Regions from separate parts of the Homo sapiens genome. Here region 2 is linked to region 1. The links are contacts of gene promoters, found by promoter capture Hi-C in blood cells and fetal thymus (Javierre and others, 2016). All regions are on one chromosome and are shown on one strand. Each heading gives the region's core, a stretch centred on a gene start or on the middle of the fragment in contact. The rest is flanking DNA. Distances are from core to core; before and after follow the strand shown.

Evidence for each region. The method cuts DNA at HindIII sites, captures the fragments that hold promoters and counts their contacts. A CHiCAGO score of 5 or more calls a contact.
Region 2: a contact is called between a fragment that was not itself captured here and the fragment with the promoter of SLC27A2 in region 1, in 3 of 17 cell types (megakaryocytes, monocytes and erythroblasts). The highest score is 11.3, in megakaryocytes.

What each region holds. Positions count from the first base shown.
Region 1 is chr15:50,180,926-50,183,487 of GRCh38, forward strand. It overlaps SLC27A2 (solute carrier family 27 member 2), which reads left to right and starts at 1,271. Exons shown (of 10, transcript NM_003645.4): 1 at 1,271-1,980. The coding sequence starts at 1,503. It also overlaps a transcript of ATP8B4 not described here. RefSeq lists silencers at 1,163-1,502, 1,773-1,872. The HindIII fragment of the contact is 4,085 bases long and covers 605-2,562 here.
Region 2 is chr15:49,236,493-49,239,054 of GRCh38, forward strand. The region is part of intron 4 of GALK2 (galactokinase 2); the gene reads left to right. Among named protein-coding and RNA genes, the nearest start is that of GALK2, 68 kb to the left of the region's middle. The HindIII fragment of the contact is 2,742 bases long and covers 1-2,562 here.

The sequences.
Region 1 (2,562 bases), core at 21-2,520:
AAAGAGGACATGGACAGAAACCTAGAGAATAGGAGGACAGCATAGTATAGTTACTAAGAATAAGCTAAGAGTTGGTTCCCCGGGACCAAACAGATACCATTTCCAAAACCCACGAATTACTTACCGGCTGTCTCAATTCACCTAAGCTTCCCTTTCTTGTCTGTAAATGAGCATGAAAGTGCCACCTGTATAAAATAACTCAGGCTCCCAAAATGTAACATAGGGAAGCTCCTAGCAGCGTGTCTGGGAGGAATAAGCATTATCTGTATTTATCGTATCAAATTAAGATAGAGGAACACAGGAGGACAGTAGAGGATGAAAATAAAACACTACTTAGATCCTGACCCTCCTCAGTGGCAAGTAGTGAGCATTCACTTCGTACAGAAGTAGCACTAAGGCAAATTAAAAGAAAGGTTCACATTTCCTCTAAAAGAAATGGTTTTTGAGTCATGCCAATACCACTTACTCAATGTCCTCTGTACTATACTATTCTCTGACAGAGCCACTTATTAAATGTGTGAACTGTGCTGACAACACTTGACAACTTTCAACATGAGGGAACAGCAGGATCACTTAACAGAACAAAATCGTAAAATAATGTCAAAGCTTGATTTCAGGTGGTGCGGTGTAGCACTGCTCTTCACGAAATCAGGACTCCCCCGACCAGGCAGGGCCGACTAGGTTAGAGTGTCCTGCCCTCACTCACCTGGCAGGGCTTGGGATGAGCTGGACGTGACTGCCACAGGCATTTCTGTTCAACCTTGAAGCCTTCGCTACAGGAGACCGCCTGGCAGTCGGGCTGGGAAGCAAATCTGAGAAACAAAGAGAGACCAGGCGGAAAGCCCTTGGGACCAGGAAGGAGAGATGAGATTCTGGTTTGGCAGTGGCACCTGGTACCCGCTATTAATAAATAATAGGACTGTCTGACATTTATAAGGCACTTTATCGGTAATAACAGTGTCATCTCCATAAGCCATTCTATTAGTGGTAACAAATAATAGCCCCACGCCTGCAATATCTCCTTTAATATTCCCAACGTCCGCTAAGCGCGTCTCATCACCATTTAAAGAAACCGTGGCTCCTAGAGGTAAAGTACTTCGGTCACAACGCGAGGAGGTCCAGACTTGACCCCAGACCTCCAGACTCGAGCTGGGAAGTGGCCGAGGCTCCTGGTGAGCCGCAGGGCAGCCTGCCCAGCCCCGGGAGGACCGCGTGGGAGGGCCGGGAGAGCAGGTGGCTGCCCCCCACAAGGGGGCGGGCTCAGCCGGCCAGTCCTGCCCGGAACCCCCGGCAACGCGCATACGACTACACCTGCTCCGGAGCCCGCGGCGGTACCTGCAGCGGAGGAGCTCTGTCTTCCCCTTCATCTCACGCGAGCCCGGCGTCCCGCCGCGTGCGCCCCGGCGCAGCCCGCCAGTCCGCCCGGAGCCCGCCCAGTCGCCGCGCTGCACGCCCGGGGTGAACCCTCTGCCCTCGCTGGGACAGAGGGCCCCGCAGCCGTCATGCTTTCCGCCATCTACACAGTCCTGGCGGGACTGCTGTTCCTGCCGCTCCTGGTGAACCTCTGCTGCCCATACTTCTTCCAGGACATAGGCTACTTCTTGAAGGTGGCCGCCGTGGGCCGGAGGGTGCGCAGCTACGGGAAGCGGCGGCCGGCGCGCACCATCCTGCGGGCGTTCCTGGAGAAAGCGCGCCAGACGCCACACAAGCCTTTTCTGCTCTTCCGCGACGAGACTCTCACCTACGCGCAGGTGGACCGGCGCAGCAATCAAGTGGCCCGGGCGCTGCACGACCACCTCGGCCTGCGCCAGGGAGACTGCGTGGCGCTCCTTATGGGTAACGAGCCGGCCTACGTGTGGCTGTGGCTGGGGCTGGTGAAGCTGGGCTGTGCCATGGCGTGCCTCAATTACAACATCCGCGCGAAGTCCCTGCTGCACTGCTTCCAGTGCTGCGGGGCGAAGGTGCTGCTGGTGTCGCCAGGTGAGCCCCGAGGATCGCCCTGCCCTGGCACCAGGGCTTCTCGGCGCCTTGACTGACGAGCCACAGCGTGGCATAAGGGGTTCGCAGAGGGAGGTTCAGATCGGAACTGTAGGTATAGAAAAAGGTTGGCAGTGTTTCCTTGAATCGCAAATAATGATCTTTTAGGACCACCTGTTGTGGAAGCTGATAATGTGCTAGGTTCTGTGTTAAGCACTCTACAGGCAGTGTGGTTTTTAATCCTCACAATGGGTAGGCTTTGTTATAGGACTTTTATAGATGAGACCACTGAGGTCCTGAGAGGTGAAGCCTCATGCCCAGCCATCTATCTCCAAATTCCAAGCTCTTAATCAATACTTATAACATCTGCATTAAAATGCAGAGGATCTTGAGTGCGAACTCTAGTGGATCCAGAGGGGCTCTTCTCACCTCTGCTGCTTGACTGGCTGTGTGATCATGGGAAAGTCACTTCTCCTCTCTGTCCCTTGGTTTGCTCCTCTCTAATGAGGCAGGCTTCAATGTTGCTTCCAGCTCTCAACTGCTGTTAGCATCCTGTCCCCTCCCTGCAGAACAAAGGTGACCCCA
Region 2 (2,562 bases), core at 45-2,544, 940 kb before region 1:
TGAAATGTATTAGTATAAGTATTTTCCAAGAAACATTGAATAATTACTTTGAAAATCTCTAATGTTACATACAAGAACAAGAAAATAAAATGTTTTCACTCTCATAATTGAAAAAGTATCAAGGACCAAAAGAAAATTGATATTTGCTGTTTTTAGAGCCACTTTTATATTGCAATAATTATTTTAGATGTAGTGACTTGCATAGAATCATAGTAGGACAATAAGAAGTAAATTTTGCCTTTGTGAGCTAAAAGTAAACAAACAAACTGACCCATGTTTTAGAGAGCTTGTGTTCCTTACTGCCTGGCAGTCCTATCTGAAACTTTGTAATGAGCAGCTAGGACTTAGTGGCACATCCATTACAGAAATACATCAAATTTATTTCTAATGTGTAGTCCTATACTGTAACAGTGGTGGTTTTTGTTCTTAAAGTTAATGAATTCATTTCTTTCTTTCTTTTGTGTTTTCCTTTCTCTCAGACACATGGTAATAACTTACAGGAAAAGTTATTGGCAGGTTTTAAATCTTCAAATCATCTGGCTTATCATATGCATTAGTGGGAATTACAGTATTTGGAAGCATTTGCCTGGCAAATGCAATTTTAATCTTCCTTGTAACAACATGCCTTTTTGCAGCATATGGGTAAAGTGGCCTAAATAATGCATGTTGCTTTGTGTTATTTTTGAGCATTTCAGGTTTTAAAGCCTTCCTGTTTGGTTTGACAATTTATGTGCAAAAGCAAACTTATACAATGAACTTTTGGCAGAAAGGTAATTTAAATGCTAGCCTGTTCAGAAACTTTCAAATTCAAATACTAGAAAGTTTCAGAGAATAATTCACTTATATTACATTGAACATGTTATCCTTTTGGCATAGAGCTATTACAGAATGTGGCATATACCCATTTGCATTTTGAATTTGTTATACATTTTCATTTAAACATTGCATAATACGTTGTTTTTTGTTTTTGTTTTTTTGTTTTTGTTTTTGTTTTTGTTTTTTGAGACGGAGTCTTGCTCTGTCGCCCAGGCTGGAGTGTAGTGGCGTGATCTCGGCTCACTGCAACCTCTGCCCCCGGGGTTCAAGCGATTCTCCTGCCTCACCCTCCTTAGTAGCTGGGATTACAGGTGCCTGCCACCGCGCCTGGCTAATTTTTGTATTTTTAGTAGAGACGGGGTTTCACTATATTGGCCAGGCTGGTCTTGAACTCCTGACTTCGTGACCCACCCGCCTCGGCCTCCCAAAGTGCTGGGATTGCAGGTGTGAGCCACTGCGCCCGGCTGATAAGTTCTTAAGTGTGATTCCCACTCAAGACACCTGTGTTTGATCAGTTTATATTAAATATATTGTATTCTTCAATTTTTTTTTTTAAACAAGCTGTCTGATATTCTGTATGAAAGGGCATTGGCAACAGTAGAGTTTCAGTTTATAGTTTGTTTGTATATCTGGAAGGAAATTTTTAGATGACTTGAAATCAGGAAGAGAAGTACACCCAGCTAAATTTCTTCTTATTGTGGTGCGAGAATTTTGCTAGCTAGGACAGACAGACAAAAAATTAAGGAAAAAGGTCTTTTATTTGCAGAATTTTGTTGTTATTTTAGTTATTCTAGCTAGCTGATTGAAATTCTCCCTTGTATAATAGGTATGATGAAATGCATAATTAGGTAATAGTATTTCATATGTTAATCTTCAGTCATTTGAGTAATTTGCAAAGACTATGGTACTTTTTCTTGAGAAGGAGGTAGACTTGAATTTATTTGTAAACTTAAACCACAAAGGTTATGATATGATATCATCCAAAGTGTCCTAGTGTTAGAAAGTAATGTAAGTATACTAGAGCTTTCCATATTTAAATCAGAATCTGATTATTTCTTTGGGCTTTCCTATTTGTAGAAATAGAGTTTCCTCAACTTGTTTAGGGTCTGTATTCTCATTTGTGGCTGAATTCTAATTTGACTATCTTTAAAGCTACCATATGGCTAAACTGTATCTATAAACTGTAGTAAGCATCTGGATTTTCTCATGTAGCTGGCATATTAAATCACAATGACGGTTTGCTGGCTCAGGTTTCTAACTGCAGTGGAAAAGTTTTCAAACAGGATTCAGAGACCTGGGCCCTACTCTCGTCTCCCTATGTGTCATCTTGGGAAAGTTTCTTCATCTCTTGGTGCCTAGGTTTTTTCATAAGTAAAACAGAACTGAGAATGTTTGGAACTCCTTTTTTTCAGAGAACCTTCTAAAGTAAGGCACTCCTTAGAAACAAGTCACTGCTTGGGGGCTGGACTTTTATAATAACAGAATGCTGGAGTTGTGCTGCATGGAGATTTAAATTACCTCACAGATAATTGTATATTTCTTGTCCTGCTACTTGACAAATTGGATTATAATTGTTTTATATTTTTTCCATATTTGTTCAAATCAATTAATACTCAAGAAAAAGAACATTCAAGGCAATTTTATATTTTTTCCATATTCAAATCAATTAATATTCAAGAAAAAGAACATTCAAGGCAAGAAAATTAAAGGCATTTAAGGGAATTACTCTGTGGCTAAGAGTCATTA